2 separate regions of the Homo sapiens genome follow, and region 2 is linked to region 1. Evidence: promoter capture Hi-C in human tissues and cell types (Jung and others, 2019). All regions are on one chromosome and are shown on one strand. The core of a region is centred on a gene start or on the middle of the fragment in contact, and the rest is flanking DNA. Distances in the headings are between cores, read along the strand shown.

What was found. Contacts are between HindIII fragments. The study calls those that stand out against the background at their distance.
Region 2: a contact is called between a fragment that was not itself captured here and the fragment with the promoter of METTL16 in region 1, in 2 of the 25 tissues and cell types used here (H1 embryonic stem cells and dorsolateral prefrontal cortex).

The regions. Positions count from the first base shown.
Region 1 is chr17:2,508,940-2,514,310 of GRCh38, forward strand. It overlaps METTL16 (methyltransferase 16, RNA N6-adenosine), which reads right to left and starts at 2,949. Exons shown (of 10, transcript NM_024086.4): 1 at 2,820-2,949. RefSeq lists enhancers at 2,820-3,029, 3,100-3,149. The HindIII fragment of the contact is 24,606 bases long and covers 1-5,371 here.
Region 2 is chr17:2,636,146-2,641,516 of GRCh38, forward strand. It overlaps PAFAH1B1 (platelet activating factor acetylhydrolase 1b regulatory subunit 1), which reads left to right. Exons shown (of 11, transcript NM_000430.4): 2 at 1,954-2,175. The coding sequence starts at 2,144. Among named protein-coding and RNA genes, the nearest start is that of PAFAH1B1, 45 kb to the left of the region's middle. The HindIII fragment of the contact is 4,031 bases long and covers 280-4,310 here.

The DNA.
Region 1 (5,371 bases), core at 1,699-4,198:
ACTGCCTGTAAGACTCTCCTCAACCTCCCACCATCGCCTTTCACCTCTGAAGGTCCACTAGCTACTCAAATCACACCCTAGGCATCATTTACTCAGGCAGCCTTTCTCTGACCCCACAATCCAATCAGATGCCCATCTACACGCTTTCAAAGCACCCTGTGCTGCTTCTCCCTCAGAGATCTTCAGTTTACTACTGGGTGTGTAATTAATTTGCATATGTCACACATAGACCTGCAACCATATCCATCCTAGTCTTTACTATACCCCCAGCAACCTGTATACAATAAATATTTTTTGAGTAAACAATTCAGAATTTGAGGGGATTAGTAGTCACCTGAAAGTTTTTCAGCATACTGTTACTACATTTTGCCCCTCACACTATGACTAAAAATGACTATATACCTGTCTTAATTTCCTAGCATTGACATACCCTTTACTGACCATCAGGAAAGAGGGGAGCATAAAACTAGGATGGCCCCCAGTTCTCAAGAAAACATCAACTGGGCAAGGTGGTGCATGCCTGTGTTCCTAGCTACTAGGGATGCCAAGGATAGCTTGAGCCCAGGAGTTCCAGTCCAGCCTGGGCCACACAGTGAGACCCTGTCTCAAAATAAACAAATACAAATAATAGACTTTATTAAAAAGAAAATATCCAAAATTAAAGTGTTGGCCGGGCACAGTCGCTCACGACTATAATCCCAACACTTTCGGAGGCCAAGACTGGAGGATCACCTGAGGTCAGGAGTTTGTGAGACCAGCCTGGCCAACATGGAGACCATCCTGGCCAACATAGTGAAACCCTATCTCTACTAAAAATACAAAAATTAGCTGGGTGTGGTGGCATGTGCCTGAAGTCCCAGCTACTTGGGAGGCTGAGGCAGGAGAATCACTTGAATTCAGGAGGCCGAAGTTGCAGTGAGCCAAGATCACGCCACTGCACTCCAGCCTGGTGACAGAGCAACACTCCGTCTCAAAAAAAAAAAAAAAATTAGCTGGGCGTGGTGGTGGGTGCCTGTAATCCCAGCTACTCGGGAGGCTGAGGCAGGAGAATCACTTGAACCCAGGAGGTGGAGGTTGCAGTGAGCCAAGATCGTGCTACTGCACTCCAGCCTTGGTGACAGTGAAACTGTCTCAAAAAAAAAAAAGAAAAAGAAAATGTTCTTTCTTGTGATTCTGGCAAGCAACAAAAAAAAGTAAACTAAGAGTAATTTCTTTAAACTGATGGAAAATATTTTCCCAATTTATGGGGGACATGTGACATTTATGCGGTATTTGTTCCACGCATAGAATGTGTGCTGATCAAGTCAGAGTATATGGGGTATTCACCACTTTGAGTATTTTTTATATCTATGTATTGGTAACATTTCAAGCCCTCTCCTAGCTATTTTGAAATATACATTGTTGCTGACTTTAGTCACCATATCCTAACAGTGACTTCAAGAGACAGTGGCATGTTAGGGCTCTGCCACACATTAAGGAAAATTCTACAGACTACATAGCTGACATCAGTGCACACACAACATAATACTCTGAATATATGTGAAACAAATTAAATTACAGACATGGCAGATTCGATTCATTTCCTACATTATTCAACTTTTCTGGTCAGAACAGATACAGAATGAGTAAATACAACCACTTCTTTTCTAACTAACCTCCCAATATAGGCAATGAGTTCTTAGCTAAATATAACCTATTCTTCAGAGTTTAACTGGGCATCAATTCTTTTTTTTTTCTTCTTGTTGAGACAAGGTCTTCCATTCTGTTGCCCAGAGTGCAATGATGGAATCATAGCTCCCTGCAGCCTCCAACTCCTGAGATCAAGCAATCCTCCCGCCTGAGCCTCCCAAGCAGCTGGGACTACAGGTACAGAGCACTGCACCTGGTTAATTTACTTCATTTTTTGTAGAAAGGGAGTCTGGCTTTGCTACCCAGGCTCTAGCTTCAATTTTCTACACAGAATTTACCCATCTGGCATTCCATATATTTTACTTACTTTAAAAAATCTCCCGTCAGTAAGTTTCAAGAGGGTAAATATTTTGTCTGTCTTGTTCACCGCATATCCCAACGCCTAAAATAGGGCCTAAGAGAGTAGGCACTCAAGTATTTGTTGATTGAAACCACGATAGAACTCTTCCCTGTCTGGACCACCGACACAAAGCACCCTCACTGAGTTTCAAAAAAAGCTCAGCCCATGGACTGGAACTTTTCTTCCCGGTTACTTGAGTCAGTCCAGAAAGCCACAGTTAATAGTAGAACCCTGAGAATGAGGCTTTCCCTTTTTTTTTTTTTCTTTCTCATCTCCATGCTTCTGTTTCCTTGGTTCCTCTTGACCATTAACCCTCTTCAACTACCACTCTCTTGATACACAGCCTGTAAAACAGTCTAAATTCCAATTTCAGAACTTCAAATTCTTTCTGCACAGATCCCTCCCACTTCCACACCAATCTACATCTTCTCTCTTCGCCTTCTCTCATAAATCCGACGTTTCCCACTAGTCCTGCCACTGCCGTTCTTTCCATGCCCTCATTTTATCAGCTCAGTTTGTCTTCCCGCCTCAGTTTTGGATCTCTCTAAACCTCCTAAACACCGGGGAGTCTTTCCTACTTCAGTCCTAGTCTCTATTCTATTCGCCAACTCCTCCCACTCATCCACTCTCAACACCCCCGCGTGCGCACACACAGCCACATCAGGTCTCCCCTCCTAGACCCCGAAGTCGGCACCTCACTAGCCCAAAACTCAAGAATGAGGAACCCGTGTGATCCACGGGTTAAGTGACCCATGATAGTAAATCTGCGTGAGAGATATAAGTGACCCACCTCTGAGGCCGAGGTTCCTGCCAGACGTCGTGTCTGGCGTGGGCCTGTACAACCCTAGAATCTTAAAGCAGCCGCATAGCGAAGCTCCTAGAAACGCAGATGATACGCTCCCAGCGCGCCGCCATCTTGTGAAGCCATCTAGCCTCGTGATTGGACACATCCCTCTCGCGCGACCTGTGGCTGATCTTGAAGAAAGAAGAAACCCTCGCGACACCTGGGGTTTGCTGCTCCTAACAGAAGGCGCGGGGGCGTGGTGACGAGCGGAGTCCTTTGAGGTATGGCAGGAGGAGGACATGCGTTCGAATTCGCGAGAAAACTTATTTAAAAGAAAAAGAAACAAGTTTTCCGGGCCCTGCTGCAGACTTACCTCTCACACTCACTGGGATTGGGCAGGTTATGAAGATGAGGGTACGAGACTTGGGTGTGATGGCGTGCAGTGAGCCCTTTTTGTGCAACAGGTGTGTCCTCAGCCGATGTCTCACTCACTGAATTGTAAGAGATATAAGCCTGTGGGTTGGGGAAGAGTACTCTCGTTTACAGCGAAAGAACTGAGGATCCGGCCGGACGCGGCGGCTCACGCTTGTAATCCCAGCACTTTGGGAGGCTGAGGCGGGCAGATCACCTGAGGTCAGGAGTTCAAGACCAGCCTGGACAACATGGTGAAACCCCGTCTCTACTAAAAATACAAAAATTAGCCGGGCGTGGTGGCGGGCGCCTGTAATCCCAGCTACTCGGGAGGCTGAGGCAGGAGAATCGCTTGAATCCGGGAAGCGGAGGTTGCAGTGAGCCAAGATCGCACCACTGCACTCCAGCCTGAGCGAAAGAGCAAGACTCTGTCTCAAAAAAAAAAAAAAAAGGGGGGGCCTGCCTACGTCCTCGTCGTTAATGTGAACGCTTCTGGCAAACTATTACCATAAAATTGGGAGATAGTAAGGATTAAGGAATGGAGACTTATACACAAGTGAGTACCAGTAGTCACCCAAGGAAAGCTGAGGAGGTGTTTTCATAATCTGTTGTGTAACAAACCGCCCCAAAACGTAAGACTTAAAACAACCACCATTTTACTTGCTCACAGTTCTGCAATCTGGGCTGGGATTAGCCCACCCGTTCTGCTGGTCTTGCCAGTGGTCATAGCAACAAGTGGGGGCTGGTTCCGCTGAAAGAACTGGGTCTCTCTCCCTGTAGTCCAAGTTCTCTCCCTGTCCACGTGGCCTTTCCATGTAATTTGTCTAGCAGAGTAGGATGACATTTTTTTTTTCCCCCGAGATGGAGTTTCTTATTGCCCAGGCTGGAGTGCAATGGCGCCATCTCGGCTCACTGCATGCAACCTCTGCCTCCTGGGTTCAAGCGATTTTCTTGCCTCAGCCTCCCAAGTAGCTGAGTAGCTGAGATTACAGGCGCCCGCCACCATGCCCAGCTAATTTTTTGTATTTTTAGTAGAGACGGGGTTTCATCCTGTTGGCCAGGCTGGTCTCAAACTCCTGACCTCAGATGATCCACCCGCCTCGGCCTCCCAAAGTACTGAGATTACAGGCATGAGCCATCGTGCCCCGCCAGAATACTTCTTACATGTTGGCTCGGGGCTCCCAAAAGGGCAAAAGTGGAAGCTGCCAGGCCTTCTTAAAGCGTAGGTGCAGAACTAGCACCTTGGCTATATTCTTGGTTAAAGCAAGTAGAAGGGCTAGCCCCAATTCAAGGGGAGGGGACTATGCCAGGGTCCCTTCCAATACTGGAAGGCATGGTTCATTTCAGCAACCAATGTAACATATTACCACAGAAAGTTTTCCATCTTTGGTTGGTAGTGGCTTTGATACTAGTTATGGCATTTTATTTAGTGCATGCTGCTGGAAAGGTAAAAGAAAAGATGGCCTCGGAGATAGGACTGGTGGGGTTGAAGTGATTGTATTTAAGATATTGGTAACTTTCTGTTAGCTCCAAAGAGCAACCCAGTTTACCTGTAGGTCGGGCCAGAGAGACCCTAGTAGCACTGCAGCTGGGAAACCTGGCCTTTAATCCTGCCCCCACCATTTACTAACCCTGTGAGTATGGGCAATTTGCTTAAACACTTGAAGGCTTAGTTTGCTCAATATTACAAAATAGGATAATAATCTCATGGGGTTGTGAGAATTAAATCAGATAATGCATATAAAACAGCAGAATGTCTAGTATATAGTGAGTTCCTAATAATAATAATATTGTTCCTTATAACTTCTCTGGTCAGTTTTTTTTAAGTATTCCATAAAGATAAAACATTTTAATAACTGAAAATTTTTAAATAATTTAAATAATACATAAAGATATCAGAAAGACAAAAATTATCTAAAATCTCACCACTCACAGCCAAGCACCATCAAATTTGGGTAACCTTACTACTAAACCTCTATATCTCATAAGGATATATAACCAAATAATTTTTATACAAATAATAATATATATTTGTATATATATGTAATTACATATATATACACACACACACATGCACATATACTCAAATATAACTCTTGGAGATTCTTCCACTTCCAACAATATAGCTCTTTATTGTTCTTTGTGAT
Region 2 (5,371 bases), core at 1,045-3,544, 130 kb after region 1:
AATTGGGAGTTGTTAAGTACCAAAGAAGTATGGTTTACTGGCTTGTCTGTTGTGTTTGGTTCCAGTTCCACTAGTTCTTACTGATTCCAACCATATTTCTCAGAATTTAGATGGAGTGATAGTGATGGCTTTCAGCTATCATTTGTAGTTAGCTGGGCTCCAGGTCAGAAGAATCCTTAAGGATTATAAAATAAATTCCTGCTTATATTTACTAGAATTGTTCTTCAGATAAGGATCTCTAATGAAATAGCAGTTGCCATAGCGAGCACCTGAGCTGTCACTTTTTCACTCAGGGCTCATGTTCGTTTTTCGTTTGTTTGTTTTTGAGACGGACTCTTCCTCTGTTGCCCAGACTGGAGTACAGTAGCATGTTGGCTCACTGCAACCTCTGTCTCCCAGGTTCAAGCAATTTCTCGCAAATTTTTGTATTTTTAGTAGAGACGAGATTTCACCGTGTTGGCCAGGCTGGTCGCAAACTCCTCACCTCAAGTGGTCTGCCCACCTCAGCCTCCCAAAGTGCTAGGTTTGCAGACATAAGCCACCACGCCTGGCCTCAGGGCTCATATTTGAAACCCGAAGGTATGCATTTTTTTTTCCTTTAAAAGAAATTGGGTCTCGCTTTGTCACCTAGGCTGGAGTGCAATGGCATGATCGTAGCTTTCCATAACCTTGAACTCTTGGGTAGCAAGCATTCCTCCTGCCTTAGCTTCTCAAGTAAGCATGCACCATCACACCTACCTAATTTTTAAAATTTTCTGTAGAGACGGGGTCTCCTGTGTTTCCCAGGCTGGTCTTGAACTCCTGGGCTCAAGTGATCCTCTTGCCTTAACCTCCCAAAGTACTAGGATTAATTACATATGTGAGCCACCACACCCCGCCTCTCATTCTTCTTTCTTCACTGGCTTATTCATTACTGTATTCTCAGTGCCTGGAGCAGTGACTGGAATGGCATTTGAAAGGTACTCAGGAAATGGTCCTTAACTCTTCTGTCCATGATAGGTTTCTAGATTGGTTGTCCCACAGGATCTTCATTATATGTTAATTTCATATCATTTGGAGGATGATTTTTTTATTGCTTTGAATTGCCTCTTCCAATCAAATTTTATATATACCAGTAGCCTCTATTTTAAGTAAGACCATCTCAAATACATTTCTTAATTAGGTACATTGGTTAAGAGAGCATAAGATTCCAGCACTTTGGGAGACTGAGGCAGGAGGATCCCATGAATACAGGAGTTTGAGACCAGCAATGTAGGGAGACCTGTCTCTACAAAAAAAAAATTTAAGAATTAGCTGGGCATGGTGGTGTGTGCCTGTCGTCCCAGCTGCTTGGGAAGCTGAGGTGGGAGGATCGCTTAAGCCCAGAGGGGGAAGGCTGCAATAAGCTGTGATCATGCCACTGCACTCCAACCTGTGTGAGAACCTGTCTCCAAAAAAACAATAAAAAGCGTAAGATTGCTAAGTAGTGTATGTTATAAATACCGGCCATTCTAAGGTTATTGGTGACTAACACTCAACCTTGAAGGTTACTTCAGTTATAGTTGGCACTGTTCGGCTTGTGCAGTTCATGAAACCCTTATCTGTTTTACCTTTTATACCTTTTTTGTAAATTTGAAATTTTACTTTTTGTCTCTAAGAGAGAATTACATTCGTTTAGAGTTACATGTTAATATTTGAAATCAAATGTATCTGGCAGGTTAACATGATTGGGAGTGGGTAAATGTATGTTAAATTTAAAAGTAATGCTGTTTTGGCTCATTGAATTATTAATTTAAAAGACAAAACAGTATGGTTTTTGACATTAGTTGACTTTCACTATAAGTGGAAAATCATCATCTAATATTTATACTAACATCACAATAAAATTTATCTTTGAAAATGAGTACTGTAACTAATAATTTAGAAATAAATTTTAAGTGAAATAATCTTTTTTTTTCTTCTCTTTCTCCTTAGGTGGAATGAATCTTACTTGTTGAATATCTTCTGGTTACTAGTTGGATTCATTTGTGAAAGAATCATTTTCCCCTGTGTGGAAGACACTTAGTGGCATATTTAAATTATAAGTCCACGGATCAAAAAGCTTTTTGATTTCCCAAAGGAGGGACATACCACTATATCAGATAAGCTTGACATTACAGCCAAGATGGTGCTGTCCCAGAGACAACGAGATGAACTGTAAGTTTCTTTGTTTTGTGCTTTAAAAAAAATCTCCCTCATGAGAGAGAAAGTAGTAAATTAAAATACAGCTTTGGGAGGTCTCTTCTAAGATTAAAACTATTTTTACCAGTGTTCCAATATTAGTTTAGGCAGTTTGGTCTGATTTTAAAACAGTCTTATTATGATATAGCATTATTTTTAAAATTTATTTATTCTTTCTGAGAAGGAGTTTTTCGCTTTTGTCACCCAGGCTGGAGTGCAATGGCGCCATCTCGGCTCACTTCAACCTCCGCCTCCCAGGTTCAAGCTATTCTTCTGCCTCAGCCTCCCAAGTAGCTGGGATTACAGGCACCCGCTACCATGCCTAGCTAATTTTTGTATTTTTAGTAGAGATGGGCTTTCACCATCTTGTCCAGGCTGGTCTCGAACTCCTGACCTCAAGTGATCCACTCACCTCGGCCTCCCAAAGTGCTGGGATTACAGGCATGAGCCACTTTGCCCGGCCGTGATACAGCATTATTCACCCTTGTGACTTGACTGTATGTAAGTTTAACGCAAAACAGACAAGTCAGTTGGGATGAGTTTTACCCTAAGCTTATTTTTATTTTTATTTTTGAGATGGACTCTCGTTCTGTCACCCAGGCTGGAGTGCAGTGGCGCAATCTCGGCTCACTGCAAGCTCTGCCTCCTGGGTTCACGCCATTCTTCTGCCTCAACCTCCCGAGTAGCTGAGACTACAGGTGACCGTCAACACGCCTGGCTAAGTTTTGTATTTTTAGTAGAGATGGGGTTTCACCGTGTTAGCCAGGATGGTCTCAATCTCCTGACCTCGTGATCCGCCTGCCTCGGCCTCCCAAAGTGCTGGGATTACAGGCGTGAGCCACCGCGCCTGGCCCCTAAGCTTATCTTTTAAAATATTATGTTCAATAGGAAGTTAGGTGCTTCATAGCTCCTCTAAACCTTTTTTTGGTGTGGAATCTGTGCATTAGAAAAATGAAAGCTGTTTTGTTCTTGTTATCACTGATGTCTTTCCTTTGCCTTGTTGTGTTTCTTTTATCTTCCAATGGCCATTACAGAATTTGAAGAATTTGAACTTTATGAGGTAGCTAATAAAATAATTAATGCAGATGCTTTAATGAGAGAGGTGTGAAATGGTTTGACCTCTTCTGTTTTAGAGTATTTTATAGCATTCCATTTTTATAGGTGAAGAACATAGGGGGATTTTCCACTCCCCCGCTTCACCTGACTAGCTTTAAAAACATAAAAACAAAACGGGAAAATGTAGCTTTATGTTCTACTTCTTTTTTTTTTTGAGATGGAGTCTTGCTCTGTCGCCCAGGCTGGAGTGCAGTGGTGCAATCTCGGCTCACTGCAACCTCCGCTTCCAGGGTTCAACCAATTCTCTTGCCTCAGCCTCCCAAGTAGCTGGGATTACAGGCGCCTGCCACTGCGCCCAGCTAATTTTTGTATTTTTAGTAGAGAAAAGGGTTTCACCATCTTTGCCAGGCTGGTCTCTAACTCCTGACTTCGTGATCCTCCTGCTTTGGCCTCCCAAAGTGCTGGGATTACAGGCATGAGTATGTTCTATATTTTTACAATTAAAAAAAAAATTTTGTGGCTTTTCAACAATTTTTATTTGGAAGTAATTTCAAATTTATAAAGTTGCAAGATTAGCACAAAGCATACTAATGTTTTTTGAAATACACCCATTGTTAACATTTTGTACCATTTGCTTTATCATTTGCACTCTGTGTGTTGGGGGTCTGTGTGTGCAGTATGCAATAGGTTTTTCTTAAACCATGTTAGAGTAAGTTGCATATATCAAAGAAATACCTTTTCCCACAAATAAACTTAAGTAGTTCCCCAAAATAAGGATATTCTATAAAACCATAGTATAGCTAGCAGTTTTATTAAATTTAACCTTCCATATTCCAGTTTTATCAGTTGATTCCATAATGTCCTTTGTGGCACTTTGTTACTCTCGTACATCATCCCATCCAGGATCAGGTATTTCATTTAGCCCTCATGTGTCTTCAGTCACATTTAATCTGGAACAGTTCCTCAGCTTTTGTCTTTTTTTTTTTTTTTTGACCTTGATGTTTTTGAGGAATAGTCTTTGTTTTAAAATAGAGTATTTCTCATATTGTCCTTTTTTTTTTTTTTTTTTGAGACAGAGCCTCGCACTGTCACTCGGGCTGGAGTGCAATGGTGTGATCTCGGCTCACTGCAACCTCCACTTCCTGGGTTCACACTATTCTCCTGCCTCAGCCTCTCGAGTAGCTGGAATTACAGGCGCACACCACCACACCCGGCTTATTTTTTGTATTTTTAGTAGAGGCGGGGTTTCACTGTGTCGGCCAGACTGGTCTCAAACTCCTGACCTGGTGATCTGTCCACCTCAGCCTCCCAAAATGCTCATATTGTACTTTTCTAGTGTTTCCTCATGATGAGATTCAGGTTACGCATTCTTGGCCAGAATACTACATAAGTAGTTTGTATTCTTCTTAAGAGAGTTGGATTTAGAGAGACATAATGGTCATCTGCCCCTCAGTTTTCATCCTCAACCAAGATGATTGATTTTTTCACTGTGTAGTTACTGTCATTTTCTTTACCACAAATAAGTGGGAAGTACTTTAAGACCATGCAAACATTCATGTTTTCCATCAGTATTTCCCTCCTGGATTTGAGGTCTATTGATTCTCGCCTGAACCATCTTTACTACAGTGGTTATAGAGTGATGGTTTTCACCACCACTCATTCCACACTACAGGCAGCACTTATCATTTTGCTGTAAGCAAGGGACTTTCTTTTTCTTCTTTTTATTTACTTGTCTTTTTTCTTTTGTTTTTGTTTTTGTTTTTTTGGGAGATGGAGTCTCACTCTATTACCCAGGCTGGAGTGCACAGAGTGCAGTGCTGCGATTTTGGCTCACTCCAACCTCTGCCTCCCGGGTTCAAGCGATTCTCCTGCCTCAGCCTCCCAAGTAGCTGAGATTACAGGCACCCACCACCACTCCTGGCTAATTTTTGTATTTTTAGTAGAGACAGGGTTTCACCATGTTGGCCAGGCTGGTCTTGAACTCCTGACCTCAGGTGATGCGCCCACCTCGGCCTCCCAAAGTGCTGGGATTACAGATGTGAGCCACCACACCTGGCTGTCTTTTCATTATTGGTGTGAACTCATGAGTTCTCATATTTTCCATAGTTTATCATTC